Regions from separate parts of the Homo sapiens genome. Here region 2 is linked to region 1. The links are contacts of gene promoters, found by promoter capture Hi-C in blood cells and fetal thymus (Javierre and others, 2016). All regions are on one chromosome and are shown on one strand. The core of a region is centred on a gene start or on the middle of the fragment in contact, and the rest is flanking DNA. Distances in the headings are between cores, read along the strand shown.

The links. The method cuts DNA at HindIII sites, captures the fragments that hold promoters and counts their contacts. A CHiCAGO score of 5 or more calls a contact.
Region 2: a fragment that was not itself captured here is called in contact with the fragment with the promoter of CRMP1 in region 1 in 1 of 17 cell types (total B cells); the score reaches 5.4 in total B cells.

Annotation. Positions count from the first base shown.
Region 1 is chr4:5,888,265-5,895,265 of GRCh38, forward strand. CRMP1 (collapsin response mediator protein 1) reads right to left here and starts at 4,822. Exons shown (of 14, transcript NM_001014809.3): 1 at 4,325-4,822. The coding sequence starts at 4,705. RefSeq lists enhancers at 1,939-2,683, 2,684-3,427. The HindIII fragment of the contact is 9,333 bases long and covers 1-5,823 here.
Region 2 is chr4:4,485,256-4,492,278 of GRCh38, forward strand. The region is part of intron 1 of STX18 (syntaxin 18); the gene reads right to left. Among named protein-coding and RNA genes, the nearest start is that of STX18-IT1, 7.1 kb to the left of the region's middle. RefSeq lists a silencer at 3,239-3,358 and an enhancer at 4,866-5,045. The HindIII fragment of the contact is 3,702 bases long and covers 980-4,681 here.

The sequences.
Region 1 (7,001 bases), core at 3,572-6,071:
ATGGCCCCCTCTGGCGCCCTCGGCCCGGCCGCTGACCTGCGGGGCTGTCTGACTGGAACCGGCGCTCTCGGCCCCGCTCCCAGCGGGCGCGCTGACAAAGGCCCGGGAGGGATAGAGACACGGACGGAGGCTCGGCGCCCGTGGATGCCCACGCGCGGCTGCCCCGGCTGCTCGGCCCGCCCGCCGCCGCTCCGGCTGCCAGCACCGCCCGGATCGGCGAGGAGGGCGGGAGAAGGAGGAGGGAGAGGCGAGGGCGGGAGGAGGGGGCTGCAGACAGCTCCTCCCGGCGGCGCGGAGCGAAGCCGGATTCGCCCCTCTCGGCTCGAACCAGGAAGCGCTTCCCTTCCGATCTCCCACCCCGCCCCCCGCCCCCCACCCGCCCAGCCCCGCCGACCCCCGCCCTGCGCACACGCCCTTGGCGGGCCCTGGCCTCGCTCTCGCGATCCAGAGAGTATGGTTTTCAGGGCTCCTTTAAAAGAAAAAGACGGCGCGGTCAGGGCCCGCGGGCGGCGCCACAGGTGTGTGGCCGCGCGTCTGGAGGCCTCCCCGGAACATCTGCGGGGGTGTGGGGGGAGGGAGTGTGGGACGGGGGCCAAGGATCGGCCCAAGCTGCTGGGAACGTTCTTGTCCCTCCAGGATCGCGCCCAAGGACCGCTCCCCTCTTGCCTCTCCTTCCATAGCCTCCGTTTATCCTTCCCGAGTGCCTCTCCCTGAATGCACCAAGCACTTTTTCCATCTCGGACCCCAAGCCTTTATTCACGCTGTACCCTCTCCCTGAATAGTCTACCCCAGACAAAAGCCTGTCCACTCCCCTAGACCCATCTCCAATGCCTTCCCCACCACGAAGCCTCTCCCTGCCACCCTCTCCATCCTAGCATTGAACCAGCCCTCCCTGGGGGCCTCTAAGGTGGAGCCCCCTAACTGGCAGAGGGAACAGCAGGGACAGAAGGGTACGGCCTTAATTAATGCTGACCTGTTCTACTCCAACAGCAGCTCCCTCATCACACAGCAGCCTGACACTGGGGCCACCAGGTCACCCCACAGAATTGCCTCCAAGACAGCAGGTGTTTGGAGGGCTGGGCCACTGGCACCAAGGTCTCCACAGCCCTGGGGACAAGCTGGGGGTCAGGAGGAGGACTAGGGTGCTCCTGCCTCCCAGCACTGTGGACACCAGCCCCGGAGTCCATGATCCAGATGTTGCTCCAGAGGGAGGTGGGCAGGAAGCCAGGTCACAGCTTGACAAGGTCCGTAACAGCAGAGGGGAAAAGATGAAAGAAGATGGAGGAAAAGGGGGAGCCCCAGCAAGCCCCAACCTCACTGGACAGGTGCCCCAAGTTCCCAGGCAGAATAAAACACCAACCTTGTCCACCACTTCGTTGTTCATTTTCTGCATGCGAAATCCAACCCCACAGGTCCTATGAAACTACTCATCTTTTCTGCTTTCAAGTTGCCATCCAGAGCGAGGGTGGCCTAGGCTTGGTACAGCTCCCCCAGCACTGTGGTTGGGGGCTGGGGCCCTGACCTTCACCACCCCAGGGGCCAGTCCCCTAATCCAGGGCAGGAGGCCAGAGACACCTGGGCCTTAAAATAGAGGTGAGGTTTTAGCTTCACAGAGAAGCCAGCTCAGTATCCCAGGAACACTAGGCATAATTTTCCCATTTTACAGACAGGAAATTGAGGCTTACAGAGGTAAAATGATGTACCCCGGGTGCAAAACATATTAGCTGCAGCAAAGCAGCATGGAGATGCCAGGTTCCCCTACACTCTGTTTACAACTCATTTCCCTCCACGCATTCATGCATCCCTGGCTCTCAGCGGGGCCTAAAATCCCTGTCAATGACCGGAAATTGCAGATGGGGACACTGTCCCTCCCCAACTCCTACACTCCCTTCCTTGGAGTTGTTAAGTCCTAGGTTCCCCGTACCAGGGCGTTCCCTGGGGTCAGTCTGGAGATCTGAGCAGAAAGCCCCTACAGCAAGGGACAAGACCACGTGCGTATCAGGGGGAGGAGCATCCGCCTGCCACTGGCCAAACAGATCGCTGCTCCCAAGCAGATTTCGCCGGTACAAAGCGCCGCAGCCGCTCAGCCTCCGGCAGCGGCAATCCTTGCGCCTGCGCCGCAGAAACCCCTCCTGCAGCCCAGGGAGAAGCCTGGTGGGCGGGGGGGGAAGGGCCGGGGCACCCGTTGCGAAGCCCTGGAGCGGTGAGGCCCGCCCCGGAACCCGAGCCCACTGTAACCCAAGCCTCAAGGCCGCTCTGCCGGCAGAAAGTAAAACCCTCCCTCCGTGGAGATCGCGAGCCCCTGAGTTCCACAGTCGCGAAGCTCGAGTGCTTTCGGAGCCCCGGGAGCGCCAGAGGCGCTGCCTTTTGTCCGGTGCCTGAGAAGCCATGGAGAAAGGCAGAGGGGACCACAGGGAGAAGAGGAAGGAGTAGGGGAGAGGAACGGGAGAGGTGAAGCGACCAGCGTCCCCAAGGGTCAGGGCGCAGCTGCGGGGCTGGCCCAGGCTGCGCCCTGGGGGAGATGCTGGCGTTGGTGACATTGACCGCAGTTCCAGAGGAACTCTCCTTGGGACAGCTACGGGCCGTGCACAAAGCGCCCTCGCCTCCCTAGTACTCCACCACGCTTTGAGGAAGGCCGGAAGAAGACGGCCACCCCCATCTGACAGATGGAGAAGCTGAGGCCCAAGAGAGCAAAGCGCCTTGGCTGGAAACCCGGATTCCCTGGTGCTGGTCCCGCTTCTCGGCCCGCGGCCCAGAAGCCTCCCCATCGGGCTCGGGAGTTTGGATCCCAAGAGAGGTCGGACCACCAGGGAAGGTAGTGGACAGGGGGAGATACAGAAGGGGTGGGGGAAGAGGAAGCTGGACTCTCGCACCATCTCCCTTTCTGATCACCCCACCACCACACACACATACACACACACACACACACACACACACACACACACACACCCTTGCTGTTGGACCTCTCCCTCGCGAGGCTCCGGCTTCAGGACCACGGAGAGCTCTGGAGCAACAGCCCGCCCGCGAAGGGATGGGGCCCGAAGAGGCCCACCACCGTGTTTACCAGTTCCCTGCTCCTATTCCTCCAGGAAGCCCTCCCAGATATCTGCCCCGATCAAGCTCTGCTTCCCTCCAGGCTCACTTTGGGTCACTCATAGCATTTAAGAGGGGAAGGTTTAATTAAAATGATAATGATTGTAATAAAAGTCAACAACAAACATTTATTGAATGCTCACTACCGACCGGCATTAACTGATTTAATTCTCACAATGAATCCGTCGCTCACCCTAGCCTGGGAACTTCTGGAGGGTGGGGCCAGGTTGCTGAGCCAGGGACCTAGCGCCTACCCTGGGCCTGGCACCTAGCAGTTCTCCGGCATCCAGGTCTGGACCAATTCGAAAGCTCCCCAGCCCTCGGATGCTCCAACTTCCGTTTTTCTGGCACCTGACCCTGGCTCTCGTCGGTCCATCCAAAGGCTACGCCGTCCATCCGCCCTTCTTCCCCCAGTTTCCTGGTGACCCCCAGCTCAAGAGAGAATACCCGCAGGGCCCAAGCCCTAGCGTTCCCTCTCCCTGATCCTCCCGGCCCCATGCTCAGGTCCGGGAGGCCAGAGACCCCAGTTCAAATCCCAGCTCTACCTCCACCTTGCTCTGTGAAGCAGGCACATCGGTGTGTGCTGTGGAGCTCAGGAGTGCCCCTTGAATCTACTGGCGCTTGAGGGTAGGGGTTTACGGCTCCAACTGCCCGACGAACTAAATCCTTAACCAAATCCTTCCCCCCAGCAAGCATGAGGGGAGCGCTCGGAAAAAAAGCTCCTTCCAGCTTTAAGCTGTGTGGCCGCAGGCGACTCGCGGAACCTCTCCCGGGGCCCGGCACACAGTAGGTGCTCTATAATTACTACCGACTGAGTGGATGGATGAATGGACCAACACGGAACGGAGCTCCAGTTCTTTTCACAAAACAGAATGAGGGGCCTGGGTTAGATTCATCCCAGAGGTTCCTTCGCGTTTAAGCGTCCATGCGGTAGCTTTAGCCAACTTCCCCTCTCAGAACCTCTCTCCCTTTCTGTAGAAGAGGAGCCGGGACTGGACCCGGGCGATCCCTTCCGAGTCTCACGGACCACGCCGGCCAGCCCCGACCGAGTCGCCCCAGCTCTGGGAACCTCTTGCATGATGAGGTGGGGGAGGGGCCGCGCCGTGGCTCTCCCCAGCCTGGCGGCCGCTGCCCCAACACCGGGGCCCGGGCATGGCCCTCGGGCGCCCCATGCCCTGGGTCCTCCCGGGGCCCGCCCCCCTCGTCTGGCCCGCGCGCGCCCCGAGGGTACCTGGCCATTGTCCCGGCCGAGGGGCAGGTCGCGGGGCGCGGGGCGGCGGATGCGCAGCGTCGGCGGCCGCTCGTCGCGCTCTCCGGGAGAGCTGACCGCGGAGCCCGAGGGCTCGCTCACGTCGCTGGCCGTGTCCTCGCTGCCTCCCGGCCCTGGCAGCCCGACCGCGTCGGGCCGGCCAGCGCTGCGCGGCGTGCGCGCCGAGCCGCGGCGGCCCACACTGTAGGCGTCGAAGTCGATGGTCTTGTTCTCGTAGGCGCCCTCCACCGCGGCGAACATGCCGCCGTACTTCTGGCGCGGGGTCTGCGCCGCGCTGCCCGGCCGCGCCAGGTACACGGGCAGGTCGTCCTCGGTGTTCCACGCGCGCCGCCGGTCCGCCATACCCGTCCAAGGCCGGCCACCCACCGCGCTCCCGCCTGCCCGCCCGCGGCCCTGGGCACCGCCGTGCGCCGCGCTCCGCGCCTCGGTGCGGGCCTGCGGCGGCCCGGGCGCGACTGCGGCCCAGGGAGGGGAGGGGCGGGGCGTGGCGCGCGCCGGGGCGGGGCCGGGGCGGGGCCTCTGGGCGGCTGCGGGCTAGCGGCGCGGCCAGCTACAAAGGACCAGGAGGCGGGGATCGCGGCTGGGGCGGGGAGGGACGGTGACGCTCCCGAGCCGCAGCGCGGAGGGCGGGCCGCGGCACCGCAGTGCCCTCGCCGCACCCCCCACTCTCCGCCCCCAGGCGGAGCGCAGGGCGCGAGGAGAGCGCGGGGCAGGAGCCGTGTGCGTACACTCGCGCGCCCACACGCTCTGGAGGCACACGCGGGTTCATACCTGCACACCAGACAATTACGCCAAACACATGAGAGATGCACAGACATGCTGGCACACACACGAGAGTCAATCACACATGCTCTCCAGAGATACACAGGGGCTCGATCATGCACACCATACTCAATGTTGCACACACATACACATATATGCTTGTGCACATTCCGAGTTCATTACAAACACACAACAGAAATCCTCATTGTCTCACAACCCCACTCACACACAGTATCACACCAAGATTAATTGCACAACTGGAGAGGCACATGCGTTGGACACACCGTTCATTCCGTCAGTTTTATTTTGCTGAGCGCCCACTAGTGCCTAGCACTGTTGTAGGAGCTGGGAACAGAGCCATGGACAAAAGAGACCAAGTGCCTGCCCTCCAGGAGCTGACCTGCTAAGGAGGGGAATTGGATACAAAAGCACCCATATGGTGGGCCAAGAGGTGGTAAGGGCCAGGAAAGGTGGTGCAGCAGCCAAGAGGGACATGCTAGAGGCACACTCCGACAGACACATAAGAGAAGCACATTCTTGCATGAGAATCAGCGACACACACATACACGTGCACGCCAATGACACCACACAACACACCAATATCAAAGGCAAGCTCAGGGCGATTCCACACATGTGCATCATAAACTGGCAACAGGATGCCCACACACAAGTCCACACCAGTAATAAAGGAAGTCAAAAGCTTAAATAAAAACGCTCCAGAGAAAGACACACAGAGACAGAGATGACCACACACACACAGCTGGCAGTCAACCAGACAGACAGATATTCCCTCATTCGAGGGGCACAGTCCACTTTTGTTGCTCCTGGAGCTTGCAGTCTGGGCGTTCTGGGGTTTCTCTGTCGTGGAGGTCGCTCTGCTGGGGCTCTCCTCTAAGGCCAGGCACCACCTGCCTCCTATAGACACCTTCCCTTATTTCTCCACGATTATCAGGCAGAGGATCCTGCAAGTCCCTGGGGACCCTACAGTCCCAGCTGCACTTCCTGGAGAGGCAGAATCGCCAGCTGCCGACCCCCTCCTCGAGCCAGTCTAGACAAGCAAAGTCAGGACTGGGTGGGGACTGCAGAGGGGAGCATCAGTGCTTCTTGCAATGTCCCCCCACCCATAGCCTTCCATGCTGGGAGCTGTCCCTTCAACCCCGGGCCCTGCCAGCTGCAAGCCAGAGCTCCCGCAGCGTGACCAAGCTCCAGGAATACCAGACAGACAGATGGATTCATGTTCTTGTTTTATGACTCTTGGGCCCCATGGACTGAGGATCCTGGGGCCGTCGGATCCGTGGCCTCAGCTGACACCTCCCTGAAGCTACTGTCTTTCAACCCTGCAACAAGGGGTCTGTGCAGCAGGTAGGTATTTTTACCGGCCCCCTCTTGGAAGAGGAAACAGGAGGGGAGATGTGAAATGGCTCCCTCAGGGCCTCAATCTCAAGGAGGTTCAGCCAGGCCTAGAGCGTGGGCTCATCCACTCGGTGGGCATTTAGCAAGTTATTTTTCTGTGCTTGAGAGAGAGGCTAGTGTGGGGACACAGATGAGTATTTCTAAGTCTCTGTCTTCAACAAGTGTTTACTCTCATGGGGGAGAGAGTGCTGAATGCGAGAACAGAAAGTTCCACACACAGCCTCCATCTACCTTCCACCCACCGCAGCTGCATCCTGGCTCCTCTCTCCTTGTGTCCCTGGGTCCACTGTGCAGATTTGCCACAGACACTCCTCTTGAGGCCCATCAGCCTCCAGGCTATCTTGCAAGTGTTTTCGATTTTTCAATGAAAATTTTTCTCTGTCCTGTGAAATACTATTCCCAGCCCATTCCAGGCAAGAACAATTCATGTCGAAAACCACATAGAAATTTCTTCTAAAACCCC
Region 2 (7,023 bases), core at 1,581-4,080, 1.4 Mb before region 1:
GTCTGACACTGTGTCTGGCACACAGTAGGTGCTCAACTACTCTAAGTTTTCTTCTTCATTTCATCACTATTTCAGTCTCACCCATAGGGCAAGGTGAACTTTAGTGCATAAGGTGAAAAGCATACACAATTCAAATGACAATTTTAAAAGGCCACAAGGCCACTCTGGACTTCAACACATTCTTGCAATGGGTTCAAACCAGCCAGTGCCCCCAGCCCAGTGTTGGAAAAGACTGCCATTTCTTCAGTTGTGAATCAGAGGAAGTGGCTGGTTTGAGTTTAGGAGACATGATGACAGTGAAAATGCTAGACTCGCAGGCAGTAAGCAAGATACTCTTAGTAGAAGAGGCCCTAGGGAACAAAACCAATGATGGGAACGGCAGATTCGCAAGCCCCATCTCACCCTCACCCCAGAGCTCACACACGCTGGGTGGACGGCAGGCACTGCTGAAACAGGCATTTCTTTTCTGCCAAGCACACATAGATAACCTCCTACCATTAGGTTTCTGTGGGATGCACCTACAGCGTGCAGCCTGTCCCTGCCCTGTCCCCTATGCGCTCTCCTCCGTATCTTTTCTCCTGCTCCCAAAGCTCTCCTTTTTCTCGATGCTACTGGTACTTTCCTGCACGGAACAGTCTTTGACTCACCACACACTTTTTCTGGGATCACTGCTTATACTAGAATTCCATGAGCAGCCTATATCCTTTGCTCTCTTAGAAGTACGAGTGGTGGATGGTCAGCACGCAGGCAGAGGGCGGGGACAGCGCCTCCAGGCACATGGTAACTCCCAGCTGGTTCTCTGACTTTGGAGTCACCGGGTGATGTGCAATTCCTCACTTGTGTGCTTTGAAGGTTGCATGGAAAGAACCCCCAAATGCTTTCCAGCTCAGAAATTCCAAGATAATTTTTGGGTGTTCAATCAATTTGAAAGCTCCTACCACCAACCCCGTCAGTTTCTTTCTACTTTTATGCTTTCCAAAGCTTCCAAAATCATTCTAAGGCTCCAGGTACATTTGGGATTCTAGTTACTGAGGTTATCAGACTTAGGGCATTTCAGCTGCAGAACTTTGGAAAGTCTGCTCATAAGAAATCAGAAATGTCATTCACATGTCAATAAGATGGAGGTAAAATAGACAAGAAAAGAATTACCTTGACAATTCATAACAGACAACGAATGTGGATACATTATAAATGTTTTTGAGTGAATATGCAACAAAAATGATCACCGCAAACACTATTATAGTACTTACTATATGCCAAGAAGAATTGTAAGGGCTTTTTACAGATTATTGCATTTAATCCTCATTATAAACTTAGGAGGCAGGTACCCCTAGGATTCCTCTTTTACAGAGAAGAGAGGCCAAGTTAACTGGCTTGAGGACTCATTAGGAAGTGTCGGAGCTGTATTTGAAATTAGGTCTACTCCATAGCCTGTATTCTTAACTTTTCCTTGCTCTTAAAATTCTTCAGAACCTTGACAAGAGGGGCGAGAGGAAAAAACATTTTACTCATATTTGAGTTCCTCAAAATATCAACTCTATCTTTAAAATTATTTACATATCTTCAAAAACAAATAGTGCAAAATTCATATTTGAGTTTCACTTTCTAAGAGGGGACTATATTTTAAATTTCTCCAGTGGCCTTACACAGAGTCACGAACATCTAAAGTATAGTTCTTGACCTTTTTAGGGGCACAGATGCCTTTGAGATACTGACAAAAGCTATGAATCTGATCTCTTCTATAAAAGAAATAAACATATACACAAAAACAAAAAACTTTCTGCCTGTCATTTTGAGCTTCAGAGGCTTTTGGTTCATGGAGCTCAGGTTAAGTGCCTCTGATTGTAAACACTGTTCAACACACACACACACACGAGACACACGAGGGTACACTCTTTCTGTAAACATCATCTGCATAAGGAAGAACTTTGAACTTTCTAGCTCAGCACCCGCAGACATCTGCTGGCCATCAGTGGGGGTTTGTCTGCATGGTCACACTAAGCAGGGATCTGGGGCCTGCAGGTGGTGGGGAGACTGAGTGCACCATGAGAACCACCTACACTGAATCATCCAAATCATCATCATAATAAACTTCCAAATCATCATCATAATAAATCATATTGAACATTTAGTGTTTCCTATGTGTCGGACACCATGTTAAACCCATTGTATAGACTATCTCATTGAATCCTCACAACAAATGAGAAAACAGATGAGTACACTTGCCCAAAGGCACACACCTGGCAAGTTGAAAAGCCAGGGTCCATACTCTGGAATAGACTCTAAGCCTGTGCTCTTAAATTCTTCACTCTATGCCTCCAAACTTGGGCTCTCCGAGGATAAAACTCAGTGAAGAACGAAACCAAAGAGGTGTTACCTGCAGCCTTCTGTCGCCTCCCCCCTGCCAAACCCATGAAAACAAACCCATCAATTTTATTTAGCAGTTTCTTCAAAAGCATTTGCTAAATGTCAGAAAATATTAAGCAAAAAAATGTATTTATACCCCAACATAATACATCCCACATCCCAGGAATACGCTCACTCTTTTTGTGTTGAAGAATTTTAAAACTTTAAAAAATTCTAAGTCCAAAAAGAACTATGTCTTCTTCACTTTGGATTCCCAAAGCCTGGCATAGTTCCTAGCTCAACAAATGTCTAGGAACATTCAACAAACGAAGAGGTGATACATTTTATCAAGAATTTGACATTCTAAAATAAATATCAAGGAATGGCTGTACCTAAAATTTGTGGTCATGATGTGTTAAAAGTTGTTTTTTTTTTAAATGTGGAATTGTTTCATCTAATTTTTGCAAATATTTTAGTACACTCAAAAGGCATATAGTCTCTATGACAAGCAGGTAACAATTTATGACCTACAGTTTATAATCAGCAGCAACTCCTCCTCTCGTGAGGTGAACAGATTAGCAGCATAGTATAAAGTTTGTGGCAACAAACAGGTTCTATCCAAAGCCGTCTCTTACTACCGAGGTTGAACATAAGCACTCAAAAACACAAAATTCCCAAAGACTAAATACTACCCTACTGACATTTAAAAAAAAAAGTTTTGTTTGAATTATAATATCAGCTTATAAGAATGTGGAGATGTCAAGCACCAGTACATACACCTATAGAAGTGCGAAAACTACAAAGAAAACCGACATATCTCACAACTACTCCCAATCTCATTCTCCTGGGGTCCTAGCGCTACTTAAAAATATGTGCTAGGACGATTAAAAATCACTTATTTGCAAGACAAGGGCAAGAGTTACATCAATGTAGACGAAATCTCCTACACAGCCCATCAAGTATGGGTCCCATCCACTAGGTGGTGCTCTCCACCACACTGTTCCTCAGTGAGCAGTACAGTACATCAAAATGACAACAGCCTAGTTTTAAGATGATTTGTCTCTTGAGGATATACATTTGGTTTAAGTTTCTACTGCAAAGTTAAAGTTCTTAAGATAGGTCATGCAGACCAATTGCTCCTGTAATCTGAAACTCAAAAGAGCAAGTAATATCTAAACAAGGGGAGGGGGTGGCCCTGAGCTTATAAGGGTCTCTAAGAGCCAGGAGACAGTCAGCCTGGCTACCTCTAATCTCACCATCAAAACTGTTACCTTGTTCATTTTCTGCTTCACATCAGCAAAGAGAATAGCAAAAGCAACTTCAAGCGGCCCATAGCAAGAACATACATTCAACATCCATTCTGCTTGTCAGATGTCAATAATTTAATCTCAACTGCTTTGTTATCATTCAAACCCCAAAAGTAGAAATGTTTTTGCTTTACTCAAACTGATTTTTTTTCTCTTTTAGCAAAAACAAAAGCAAAGGAATGAATGTTCATTTTATCTCAAAGTTCTGAGAAAGAGGGTTTGGTAACAAGATATATGTCCTTGCCTCCAAAGTCATCTTTCAACTAAGTGAATGGGAATAAAATGCAGAGTATGCTGGCCTTGACCAATAATACAAATGTCCAAATTCCAAGCAAAGTCCAGGGTCTTGCTTCATCATTCCCTGTCCTCAAAAATATACAGATCCCTTTTTTCCTTTTTCCTATAATGAGGAAAGTCATTATGATCGTCTTTGGAGTGAACAAGGCAAGAAACTCAAAGCACTTCAATACACATGCAAAATAATTTTTTTTTTTTTTTTTTTTTTTTTTTTTTTTTTTTTTGGTAGAGACGAGGTCTTGCCATGTTGCCCAGGCTGGTCTCAGACTCCTGGGCTCAAGCAATCTGCCTGCCTCAGCCTCCCAAAGTGCTGGGATTATAGGCATGAGCCACCACACCCGGCCAGAAAATATTATTTCAAGAGATAAGTTACAGAACTTTCTAACATCTTCTTTGTTTGGAAATAAATGAAAAGGTAAAACTTAGTGGTTTCTAGAATTTAAAGAAACTAGCAAATTGCCAACAGCTTAGTTTTACAAAATGAGGGCTCAACTGCTAAAAATGGATTGCTCCTTAAGTGTACAAAGTAACACAAAATAATCACTCCGTAACATAACATTTGCCGGAAAAAAATGTGTGAAAACTACTAGAAAAATAATAGTTAGGTCCTGAGCAGTATATTAAAGATCTTGATTTTGAGACTCAAATTATATCTTTTCATTCTACATGAGTTCTTACTTTCTTTGGACAAAAAATTTAAGGTCCTGTATCTGAATTCAGCTCAGTGTGAAAGCTTTAAATGTAAAACTAGTATATGCAATTTAAATCCCCTTTAACAGTTTTTCAGACAATTAATTAGGTAAAGCATTTGAAACACCATACATACAAAAAATTTTCATTCATATTGCAATGAATTTCACTCAAAATCACATATCGAACTGTAATAAATTTACAATAAAAATGTAACACTAACTGCCCCCCACAAATACATATACACTTTTAAGAGATACACAGTCATGTACCTAAGAAAGGAAAGTAAAACTTGACAATGTTCAAGAAATCTTTCGAAAGCTCTACAGCATTAGTCAGCATTATCTGATCAAATATTAGCATGACCACTATTTTCAAAAGGGCCCATATGTAACAATAGCCAAAGGGGCATCTTCCTAAACTTACAGTATTACTCTAATAGAACAGACAAATTTCCTTAAGAATTGGAGTTGTACTGAACACAAAATGCCGATTTGCAATTATGAGGTCAATCTCATAACAATGAGATTTAAAACAAATTTCAGATTACGGTTTTAAATTTCTATTCATTCTCTATACAGTGGTATATTTCAATAATTACATAAACTGAAACGTTTTCCCTCCTATTTTTTCTCCAAAAGGTTCTCTACAGATGCTTACTTCGTAAAATGCAGCTTAAAATTTATTGGAAACTAAGAATTTTTTTACATGGAATCTATAAATACATGCATAATTTCTGTGCCCATAATTGGAAAAGGGCACAGAGGCTCCTATAACAATCACTAAGGAAGCTCTTAAAAACAAAAAACTTCATCCATGTTCAGGCTGAAGAATTCACATTTAACCTTTATTTTAAATTACAGCCAAAGTCTTTGTTTCAAATCCACATAAATCACTGTTCTTCTCTCTGCAAATACATTTTAGAGAAAACATTATTTAATGTTACATCTGACTTTAATAGAGTTTCCCATTTGCTTTTGCATGTTTATTATCAAACTCTAATCATGACATTTCCAAACTTATTTATACTTTCACACAAACTTCCGAAGTTTTCCCAACTTAAATAAAAACCCACAAAAACTGTGGGAAATGTTTTGCTTGAAAGATAAAAGCAACGTGGTCCAAATGTACATTTGTAATAATCAGTGTTTACTTTTGTTGTTCAAACATTCGGCTTATAGCACTTTCAATATACGCATTCAACTTAATTTTCTTGTCTCTTAAAAAAAAAAAAAGAAGGAAAGTGTTTTCTTTCCCTGTTTTGCTCTCAAAATATAAACTCATTTAATGCAAAGCATTCCCGGATCAGGCATGTTTTAAACTACGAGCACGTCTAGCCTCAACAGCATTCATCCATATTATATACAAAATGCCATTTCTTTCAAAACTTCAGTCTGGACATTTTATAAATCTAATTTCACTTTTCCTAAAAACATGAGGATATTTTACTATATAAGGCTCAATTAAAGTTTTAGTAAATAAAAATAACAAAAGAAATGATACCATAATACTAACGTAGGAAAAAGGATATATATTAATTTCATTTACTGAAAACGTTGAGGGTTTTTTCCTTGAAGTGTCTCTACTATAGATTTTACACTACATTTATTAAAATATGACAAACCTTTAACCTGGGAACAATTTACCAGTTAACATCATCTACCGAAAGAGGAAGTATACTTTGGGTAAGTAAGACACTGGAAACGATTTATGCTGCCTTTTTTCAAAGCTGCTTAGAAAATGGCTATGTACTTTTAAAAAATAATCATTAAAAACAGTCTAACGGTTGTCTTGTGATATCGTTGATCACAAGCCTAGTGATGCCACCTAATTCTAAAGACTGAAATGTGCCTCTCAAAGGGATCTAGCGCAGCCACAGTGTAATATACGTTAAAGGTAATGAAACTAAAAAGTAAGATTTCCTAATAGAATGAACATATTTTAAAGTTTTTATGATTGACAAAAGACTTCTTTTTTTAGCCATTAAAAAACTAAAAGTATCCTGACAAGAGATTCTGGTTTTGAAGTATGTCACACTCCGGTTACCCAGCCATGAATCTCAGTTCATTTTTTAAAATGAGGTCTATTTCCTGTAATTTTAGATATTTTAGAGTACAATTATTTTACATTTTTATGATGCCTTTGGGGTATCATTACAAATATTTTTATGTGTTTAAACTTAGGAAAGAAAAATTAAGTAATAGCTTCTCTTATAGGGAGCTGTCAACTCTCTCCTGGACAAAAATCTTTGTTTTAAAGCAATCTAGAGATTTATATCCCTAGTAACCATAGAAATTAATCTTAAGCTTTAGAAAAAAATTGCATAAAATGCTCTTTATTTAATTAAAATCAGAGCTCATTCTTAGAAATAAGAACCTTCTTT